2 separate regions of the Homo sapiens genome follow, and region 2 is linked to region 1. Evidence: promoter capture Hi-C in 16 types of primary human blood cells and fetal thymus (Javierre and others, 2016). All regions are on one chromosome and are shown on one strand. Each heading gives the region's core, a stretch centred on a gene start or on the middle of the fragment in contact. The rest is flanking DNA. Distances are from core to core; before and after follow the strand shown. Region 1 holds the start of SLC1A3 (solute carrier family 1 member 3). Region 2 has its middle 97 kb from the start of RANBP3L.

Region 1 (5,506 bases), core at 2,049-4,548:
CATACTAACTGGTAAATAGGCCTCAGCACACAGCGATCTCATAACCTTCTGTTGGGCCCTGTCCTGGCCCACTGCTTAATAATTACGATGCGTTTATGGACTCCTTGAGGAAAGAAACTGGTATTTGGAACACAGTGGTTGCTCAATGTTTGTTGAAAGAATAAATGAATGTGATAAAGTTAATTTTAGTTCACCTCTCTGTAGTTGGATGTTTTTAGGTTTCATATGACTATAACTTTAAAATAAAACCTAGTTATTTAAAAATTCAACTAACCAGACTTCACCACAGGTTTTTTTGTTGTTCTGCTTTTTACATTCATATTTAAGAAGAAAAAAAAATCAAAACAAAATGGAAGACAACTACCACAAGTTCTTCTACACCTACTGCCTCTAACACATCCACTGTTACACTCTGGGGTTAAGTCAGGTCCTGTTCATTGTCTTAGCATTCTACAATTTCCAAATTCTAGGAGGAGAATTGACATTCATGATGATCCTAAAATGCAAGCTATTTAAACAAGGAATGATTTTAAAACCATCATTAAATTAAAAATCAACTTGGAAAATATTGAAAAAAGATTAAAAGGTTTTCTAATCCATTTTGTTGCTCAAAAAAAAATCCAATTAACCAAAATTTCCTAATTTTGAATGGTGAAGTTTGACTGGCCTGTACCATGCTAAGATCAGCACGTGCTTATTACCGTAATCTCTTGTTCTTCAAACCAATAAATGCTCCCTTTAAGGACAGGTTGGATTTGGTTATTTCTTGTTATACTGACATTTTTTCCCAAAGAAAGAATTTACTGATAACATACTTCATCACACAATGTTCACAGAAAGATCTTGACAGATTTTTTCAGCAGGAACAGCATTTGCTGCTGGTGTTTGTGTTTTTTTCATTTGATAATACTAACATTAATATGATCCCCCAGCTTCTGTGTCTCCCACCCTGAGTAGCTTTAAATGAAATACAGCATACAGAGACTTGTTCATAATTTCTTGATCTTTCATTTATTTAGTGTTTCTAGAAGGAAAAAAAAAGATGTTTTAAAGCTCAAGGGACTTAACTATAAAGTAGAGGGGAAAAGGTAGAAATACGCGTTGAGGAAACCCAGGAGGCCCCCAGGCATGACTTTTGCTATAGCTTTCCAGAAAGAGAAAGTGGTGCTTAAAGAAGTAATTCCCAATGTTTCCCTCCAGACTAAAATTGGATGAACTCTGAACTGAGACTCTTTGCATCTCATTTTCTCATTAGGTTTTATTACAGCCAACAAAACTTTCAGTGGTGAATTACTTCCCTTCTCAACAGAATACCAGACTCCCATAATGTCTACACAAACTGAAATAATGAAATGGTTTTTAACCAAGCTTTAGGGATTAGAGAGGAAAAAAAAAGTGAAAAAGAAAGGGCACCAGGGTCTTCCCATCTCTATGCTAACCAAAGTGTGGTTTTCCAGCCCTTTTTCTTGCCTATTAACAAAAATAAAAACAAAAAATGGAAATGCCACTGGGCTTGAAACCCCATTTAAAATCAGATTTCTCTTTCGAGTTCCCTTGCAATACAAGTCAAAGTCATTTCCACCAAAAAAAAAAAGCGGTGGGGGGGGGGGGTGTGCAAATTAATCCTAAACTCATGGCTCAGATAGGACCTGGTATAGTAAATAAATGCTTTTAAAAGTAGTCATGGCATTGAGAAATGGCTCCATGCACCTAAACCAGAGGCACCAATGTAAAAACTAGTAATTGTGTTTTAACACAAAAGATTGAAAAGCGTTTTGTTTCACATCCTAATATTATTCCACCCACTTAAAAAGAGTTACTTAATATTGACTCTGTATTAGGTATAAGACAAGTTCTTGCCCTCAAAGAACTTATAATTTAGTTGAGAAACCAAAACTTAACATGAGCTTAAAAAGAAGGATGCAGTACAAAACATGGTATAATTAAGTGCTAAACAATGTAGTATAGATGCTCAGTGACCTAGGAGATCAGAGGAAGGGAAGGGTCACTGAGGGCTGGGAATGTCAAAAGCATGTACTTTCAGTAAGTTCTTAAAATGATAGCATGTTAGAAAGCTGTTATAATTGCTGCTGATTTGTAATTTTAAAGCATTGACATGATTCACCATTGCTTTCCAACCAGTAGCTGTTTAAAAGGACATACAGTTGAGGGTGAAAGGAGATATTTCTTTATGATCTCCAGAGATTTGTATTGAGGGGAAAAAAGACATACTTTCTTGTTGAATAATAGACCAAGAATTGAGCATATTTTGCATGGGGAATATTAAATTCAGTGAACAAGAATCCAAACCTCAGGCTGTGATTCTGGTATAAATTTTTGTTTCTAATGAACCATTTTCTTCCTTCTAAAGAAGATTTAAGTTTTGGGAATAAGTCACCTCAAAAAAATTTTTTTTTATTTTCTAATATCTATTTTCACAATTTATTTTTCTTTTAAGAAAAGTGGACTAGAAGCTCAAGTTACCTTCTCAAGGCAATGAGAATTTTTTAGCTCTAAAAAAGTTGTGTGTGGTAGGGAGAACATTTAGCATCCTTTAAAATGGAGACATCTGAACAGCAACCTATCTTTTGAATCACCAAATCTCAAGTGTACTTTGCACTCTTGGTCTTAAAATGCTTTTCATTTTCTAGTTTGGCAAAAATTCCAGTCTCTTTACATTTGCTACCTTTTCCGTCTTTGCAACACAGGCAGTGTGAGCTAAATTAGGTTTGTTAAAATGAAGTTTTGAAGTTTCAACTGCTGAAATAGAGGCATGTCCCTAACTTTAGACAAATTTAGAGAATCGTAGTAAGCATTATTTTTTTTCTACATACTTGTCTGCATTCAGTGTCTTCCCAAGAAACGTCAGTTAATTCCCCGATTCGAAAAAGGAACTTTCTCGTAACAGTTGTACAACCAGGCTAAAGAGCACACCCTCGTCTTCCCTGAAAGGGAGGAAACATGCAATAATGTGAGGTAATTAAATTTAGCCTTAGAAAAGTCTTTGAAACGTTCTAATCAAGACTTTCAGCTTTCCGATTGTGTGCGCTTTATTTTTCAATTCTTCCTAGTCCCGGTTTTGCATTTCTAATGACAGTGAACTGACAAAGCGTGAAAGTGGTCTAAGGAGCAAAACAAAGCCAGCAAGCCTGCTTCTGGTGTGCCAAGATTAATCAATATTCCAGAAACCTCGGGGTTTCCCCCTCCTCCCTGTGCGGTTTCCATTCCCCACTCCTCCTTTCCCGGGCACAGACTCCTCCCCTTTTCTTAAGTTGCCCTGATAGTAACTTGCAGTTTCAGAGCACATGCACACTGTCAGGGCTAGCCTGCCTGCTTACGCGCGCTGCGGATTGTTGCTCCGTTGTACCTGCTGGGGAATTCACCTCGTTACTGCTTGATATCTTCCACCCCTTACAAAATCAGAAAAGGTAAGTGTCACATTCTGTGTTCCTGCTGGGTTTAATTTCTCCTTTCACTTCTCTGCCGATGTATTTTGCCTTCCAAGCAGAGGAGTAGCCTGAATCAAGGCTAGCCATTTTGGTAGATAAAGTCCTTGTTAGTCATCTCACGTCGTGAGAGTGTGGTGTCTGTTTATGCCGGGTCCGCTGTTAATTCGGAGTTGAGTCATTCGGGGTGGATTGGGGGCAGATTGTGGCGCGAGATCTAGAAAAGGATCAAGGTTGAGCGGATCTGCTTAAAAGTGACTGGTAAGAGGAATCAGAGCTATTAGTTTAAAAAAAAAAAAAATCTGGTCTCTCCTATTTCCCGGTCTTCACTTCTCCCTAAGCATTTAATCCAGTGTGAAGTCTTAAACAAATTAGAAGTCTTAGTATCACTGACCCCAACTTGCAATTTTATTTAAAAGGCAAACTGTTAAGACAAGTCTTTTTTTTTCCTGCACTGGGATTGCGAGAAGTCATTTGCGAGGAGTCCTTTGGTTTCCAGTTACCTCCCCCACAGGCGCACACGCTGGCTGCTTGCGTTGGCAGCGACACACATCCATGGTACGGCTGGTTTTCACTCGGATTGATTATGGGAAGGGCTATGGATTAGAGCTCCTGTAAAGCACCAGGAGGAATCCCTTGATTTTTCAGAACAGCTGATTTCCACCAGGAAAGAGATTTACTGAAATGTAGTTAAATAGCGTGAGTGCTTTAAAGAAACCAGAAACCACAAGCTGTAATGTTTGGAATGAAAATTGGTTTCATCTCATCTGTTCTAGAAATCCTAAATTTTAAAACGCTAAAAAGTCAGCGATAGTTTCCTCGGAAGATTCCAGCATGTGTGTCACAAAGAAAAACACTACTTCATACTTCTACTTGTGATAAACGAAGCTGAATTGTGATTTCAGATGATTTATAGATGTGCCCAGAGCACTTTGCTTATTTCATGGAAAAAAAATGAAAAAATTACCCTGTAAAATAGTCACATGTATTTCCCATGTACTGTGGGCACTTGTGTTCTTTTTATGACCATATTTACTAGTAGATATTATTATATTTTTTTCTTAATGAAGAAAATAGCTGGTTACTTTACTGCATGTAACAGAGACAACTCCCACCTATCAGTATCTTAATTATTTTTATTGACCTGGTTATGCTTTCAACCATGTATACAGCATAATTTGTCAAGTAATGATTGAATACTTTCTGTGCATTCAGTTCAATTGGACATTTACTGATTGTGTACGTTGTGCAAGGCATCAGCTGGGTTCTGCGGGGGAGGGTGGGAATAGGGGTTCTCAGTCAGATCTAGCTCTGAAGAACCCTTTTATAGCCTCATTGGAAGGGGAAGGACGGATTTTTAAAAAGAAAATAGAATATATTCCGAATTTATGCACATTTCTCACACGTGGTCCACTAAAATATGCACACTGCAACCTTGAGGTCTGGTATTGTGGCTCTCCAGTCCTTGATTCCTGCTGAGATTATGCAATTTGCCAAGAGCTTGCCTGGTGTGGAGCAGCACTGATTTCTCACCCCTGGAGGCTATAACTCATGTCTCTTTTTCTCCCATTCTAGTTGTGTTTTCTAATACCAAAGAGGAGGTTTGGCTTTCTGTGGGTGATTCCCAGACACTGAAGTGCAAAGAAGAGACCCTCCTAGAAAAGTAAAATATGACTAAAAGCAATGGAGAAGAGCCCAAGATGGGGGGCAGGATGGAGAGATTCCAGCAGGGAGTCCGTAAACGCACACTTTTGGCCAAGAAGAAAGTGCAGAACATTACAAAGGAGGATGTTAAAAGTTACCTGTTTCGGAATGCTTTTGTGCTGCTCACAGTCACCGCTGTCATTGTGGGTGAGTCATTTGATTAAAAACAAAAAAACCTGTATCTTGTTTCTCTGGGGCATCTGGCTGCCCGGGGAATATTATCAGATGAACTAGTTGTAGGTATCAAAATGGTAGCCTAGGCTTTCCTCTGAACTTGATGATTTTTCTCCATAAAAATGACTGTTTTGGCTTGTTTGGAGCAATATATAGTAAACACATCATTAGGCATCATTAGG
Region 2 (5,506 bases), core at 2,123-4,622, 210 kb before region 1:
TTTCTCCTTCTCCTTCTCCTTCTTCTTCTTCTTTTTTTTCTGATACGGAATCTCGCTCTGTCACCCAGGCTGGAGTGCAGTGGCGTGGTCTCGGTTCACTGCAACCTCCGCCTCCCGGGTTCAAGCGATTATCCTGCCTCAGCTTCCTGAGCAGCTGTGACTTCAGCCTCCCACACCCCAACCACGCCTGGCTAATTTTTTTGTATTTTTAGTAGAGACAGAGTTTCACCTGTTGGCCAGGCTGGTCTCGAACTCCTGACCTCGAGTGATCCGCCCACCTTGGCCTCCCAAAGGTCTGAGATTACAGACATGAGCCACCGTGCCTGGCCAAATCATACATTTTCTTAAAGCATTCTTAGAAGAAAAAATTGGGTGCTTGTGCTTACCATTGAGTCAATAAGATGAGATATTTGAAATAGGGACTGCCTTGAAATTTAGAACATACAGTCAGTGAAATTTTGTCTCTTTATAAAAAAAGTCTATCTTTAGATAGACTTATAGATATAGATGATAGAAAAAAGAGCAAGACTGTGACTGCCCAGTTTAAGAGATCTAGAAGGTTTTTCTAGGAGCCAGCAACTTGTCCCCAAATAAAATAGTTATGTTCTCTTTGACAAGAACCCAGAAAGTTTCCACAGCCAATCACACACTAACAGATGGGATTTAGTGACTGGGGGGAAAAAAGCAAGCAAATAAAACTTCAAAGAAACAGAAAGATTGAAGAAGGAGAAAGATAAGATTTTGCCTTCTTATTTATTTTAGAAGTGGTTGTTAAATAGAGCCACTCATAATAAATTTGTCTTTTTGTTTTGTTTATAGATCAAGATTACTTGAGGCCAGGCACGGTGACTCATGCCTGTAATTCCAGCACTTTGGGAGGCCGAGGGAAGCAGATCACTTGAGATCAGGAGTTCAAGACCAGCATGGCCAACATGGTGAAATCCTGTCTGTACTAAAAATACAAAAATTAGCCGGGCTTGGTGTCTCATGCCTGTAATCCCAGCTACTCAGGAGGCTGAGGCTGGAGAAGCTCTTGAATCCAGGAGGCTGAGGTTGCAGTGAGCAGAGATCGAGCCACTGCATTCTAGCCTGGGCAACAGAGGGAGACTCCTTCTCAAACAAAAAAATAATAAAATAACTACTTGAACCAGGAAAGGGAGGGAGAAAATGGAAAATTAAAGAGTTAGAGTCTATATTAATCAGTTTTTGCTATGCTTTGTTGTGAAACAACCAACCTCCAAACATCAGTAGCCTAAAGCAATAAAGGCTTTTTCCTTACTTATATTACTTCAGCTGCAGTGAGCTGCCATTATGTTGCATATGTCTTTTTCTTCCATAACACGAGCTTAAGAAGCAGTTTGATCTGGGATATATCATTCCTAAGGCAGAGGAAAAAGAAAAAGAGATGGCAGAGATACTCAGTGACTATTAAAACTTCTGCTTGGGCCTGACACGTCACTTGCTGCTTAGATTTCATTAACAAATCAAGTCACTTGGCCAAGCTTGACATTAGTTGACATTAGTCCTTTCTAGAGTCAGCAGATCATTGGAACAACAGTGCAGACCATTACAGGGCTCATTTTCAAATGAAGATCAGTCAGAAATTGTAATACAAAAATCAGGGGGAAAGGGAAGTAGTTCCCCAAAATTCAACATGCATAATCAGAATCTACCCATTTGTAGATTACCCATTCATGTAAGAAAATCCACTAAATAATTCATAATATATGCCTTAGATATGTTAGAAGCCCATGTAGTTCATAAAAGAACAGTGACTTCTTTAGGAAGCATCTTTCACTCCGTGCACTGGATTTCCAATAAATTCTTTTGTTTTCCGGAAGAGTGTGAAGAATTCTCAGATGAAAGGAAGAGCCATAGCCTAATCCCTGCTTTGTATCCAGAAGCCTCTGCCTATAGCCTGGATTTTCAGTATCTCTTCTGTTCTATAATCCTCCTCTGTATGGACTCCTACGAGGATATAAATTATCTATCTTCAGCCATAAGTTTTCTGTGATGTATTTTCAGAAACTTCACAATGTCTATCCTTGCTGACAACATAAATCCTTTCTTCATACTGAAAAGACCGGAAAACAATTCTGTTTCTTTAGACGGTTCTTTGCTATAAAACTTCTTCATTTAAACAGCACTTTCTTAGCCCTTGTAGAATTTGTTTTGTTGAAGTGCTTAGTCTGTCTTTGAAATAAGCATATTTCATCTAATTTTGAATGATTCCAGCTGCTGGATTACCTATCTTGAAAGTGAGTCAGGAGACTTGTTGGTTTGGGGGGATTAGAGAAGGAAGTAGATTTCAATTTTCCAAAATGCAAGTCTGACACCTTCTGGAAAGCATGTGACTATTACACCCACAAGTTAGTTCCCTTGGTCCACTATTGAGAAGGCCAGGGGTACATGAAGTTAGATGGGCAAAATCTTGCATTTTTATTTCTATAAACTGCTATTTAATATTTAGGATTTTCTTCAATTATGAATATGGACAACTAACCATAGTAGTATTATTAGTAATGTTGTCAACAGTAGAAATTATAGATTTAAAAAATCACATTATAATTATTGCAGATATCAAAAAGTATTGTTTACACTCACCATTACTTTGAAATTCTGATAGACCTGTCATTAGATCTCGTTACTTAATGAGTTAGTATAAAACACGTGCATTAGTATTTCATATATTTGCTATTTTAACCTTATGACTTTTGAATATTTCAGCATAATTGGTTTTCTTTGAAAATCTATATATATTATTAATATTTGGCACACAAAGAATATTTTGAGAAGTTGTCTATAGTTTACAACGAAACAGCTATGGGTTTATGGTACAAAAAAGATTAAGAATGCTTGTTCTAGATGCATTCTAAAAGGGATAGAGGAGGACAAAAGAATATATAGAACTACATCTCTCTTTCACTAAAATAATGATTTTTAGTTCTTGTGTATAGAGTTAAATGGCAAGAGTATTTTAATATAAAATAATGTTTTGATATTATATAATGATTAATGTACAAAGCTTGTCTTTCCTTTTTCTTCTCGTGAAAATGGACCCCAAAACTGTGTCAAGGGAACTACCCCTTTTTCCTTCACTTCCCTCCCTCTACCCCCCACCACAAAGTTGAGTTTTTAAAAAATGTCTTTTTTAAACTATGAAGTTCATTTTTAATTTTTATATCAGGTAATAATTCCTGGACACTGAATTGCAATTGACAAAGGGAATAAGAAAAGACTAGCAAATTTCCCATCATTCATAAAAATGCTTCTACATTAGAAACAGCAGAAACACACCTGAGCTCTATGGTGTTCCTGGGCAAGCAAGGGGGCTACTGTTGAGCACAGTCTGTGTGTGGAGCTGCTTATTTTAACAAGATGGACTGGAGAGTCGGCTCCAAGTGTGTAGCATATGCTCTGAGGGAGCACAAGATCATCCAGCAGGAAGCAGAAAGAAAAAATTGGAACTTCTATTTCTGTTTATCTAAAATTTGAAAACCAACCAACTTTACCTGTATTTCTCACATATTCTGTCTGTACGTCAGCAGGTCAGGATCCTATGAGAGGCATGAGGTGTCCTCAGCAAGGTGTGGAACTTCCACAAAGCAGTGGGGTTGGCAGCCACCCTTCATCCTTCCTCTGCTTTGGAGCTGCTGAGACATTTGCAGTTTTTGTGTGCCCAGTTAAGTGACTCCACAAATGCATCATCTTGTTTTAACTAAGCTTGTCTTCACAAAGTGGAGTTCCACATGGAACTGTGGGTTGAAGATATTTGCAATAATGCGATCTCATAAACTTATCAAAATACAATGGCAGAGGTTCATTTACTCCTAATGTGACCCTTTCAGAAACAATACAAAGAAAAAAAATGACCAACTCATAACATCTAATAATTAATTGAATGTCCTAAAATAGAAGTAATCAAGACGATTTAATATACAGATTGATAAATGTTGTTGCTAATGATGACCTTGCCTGCAGTGCATATTGTGCCTTGAGAAGTTAGTTAATAGTAGCCATACATATAAAGAACTTATATATATATATGTAAGTTCAAAGATTATTTACTAAGAAAAATACATTATCAAAAGAGTTTGAATAGTACTATTATAAAGCTCCAAGAATAAAGTTTTTGAACCAAACCATGAATAAAAAAGTTCTATTGTGAGTTTAGCATCATTAGAAGAGGGAGTGCCATGTTGGCCAAAGTGAGTTTTGCTGGCCCAGGATATTAAATCTAACAATAATGTGGAACAGCAAGAAGACATTGTTGGTTGAAATGGACATTAGGGTATTGTGGACTGAGTGTATTTATCCATCTCTGCCTGTCTCCCTAGTTAGACTGTGGACCTCATGCAGCCAAGAATTGTGTCTATTAGTCCCACATTCCAAGCTGCTGCCTGGCATCAGTAGGTGCTCAGAAAACTTTTGCTGGGCTTATGGATTCAAAGAAACAAATAACTAAGGGGAATTTTACCTTTGGTTTATAGCACAATTTCTCTTTGCCCCTTAGCATTTCCCAGTGATGGGAAGTTATTCCAAGTTGGAAAGCAGAATTCAAATGACAGGACCAAGAGCCTGAGTTGACAGAAAACATCAGCTCCCAGAGACCTGCAAGTCCCTCCCGATCCTGGGCCTCCTTTAGCCTTTCCACATTGCACTATATTACACCAACTACAATTTCAAGCCATATTTGTGTTGCTGGTTGTCTCCCACTGTTATTTGGGGAGCTCCTGGAGGGGAGACACAGTGTCTTACTCATCCTTATTTTCCTGATGGCTAGAACAATGCCAGACACAGAAGAAAGCAGCAGGGAGCAAATGCATATGAGCAGGTGCTACCTGCTCAGCGCCAGATGATGACATATGCTATCTATTCAATTATCACACTAACCTTACAAAGGTTAAATTACATTCCCATGGCCACACAGTAAGTAAGGGATCCAGGATTTTGAGTCCAGGTTTGATTCCAAGTCCAGGACTCTTTCTACTACCCCCATATTATGTCAATAAATGTGGGATACATAAAGCGGTTGATTAACTAACATAACCTCTTCATTGTGGCTCTCAAATGACAGACATACAAATATGGCTCCCTGCCACATAGTGGAGGCCACTTCATTTTCAAGAGCTTCAATCATCAACTTCCTTTCATTGATCTAAACTCTACTTCCCTACAACTTCTACTTACTGCTCCTTGTTCTTCTCCAGAGCCACACGGGATAACTAATGCCCCTTCCACAAAATCAGCCCTTGGCTTATGAAGACAGTCACTATGTGTCTACCCCTCACCAAGTAGCTGTTTTTCCATGCCATCATGACCAATCGGCTTGCAGGAAGCAAAAAGGAAGCCTGATTTTAATCTTTTAATTGTGGATCCTTTGCCATGAATTGTGTATCTTATCTAGCCAGAAGGTTCCTGAATTTATGCTGAGCTAGACCCAAATAGGATATGCCTTCCGTGTGCTCTGTTATGCACCAAAACACGGCAGTGAACCCCCAGTTGG

Evidence for each region. The method cuts DNA at HindIII sites, captures the fragments that hold promoters and counts their contacts. A CHiCAGO score of 5 or more calls a contact.
Region 2: a fragment that was not itself captured here is called in contact with the fragment with the promoter of SLC1A3 in region 1 in 1 of 17 cell types (M2 macrophages); the score reaches 5.0 in M2 macrophages.

The regions. Positions count from the first base shown.
Region 1 is chr5:36,603,308-36,608,813 of GRCh38, forward strand. It overlaps SLC1A3 (solute carrier family 1 member 3), which reads left to right and starts at 3,299. Exons shown (of 10, transcript NM_004172.5): 1 at 3,299-3,428; 2 at 5,022-5,297. The coding sequence starts at 5,117. RefSeq lists an enhancer at 3,406-3,505. The HindIII fragment of the contact is 8,493 bases long and covers 1,367-5,506 here.
Region 2 is chr5:36,396,026-36,401,531 of GRCh38, forward strand. No RefSeq gene overlaps it. Among named protein-coding and RNA genes, the nearest start is that of RANBP3L, 97 kb to the left of the region's middle. The HindIII fragment of the contact is 698 bases long and covers 3,024-3,721 here.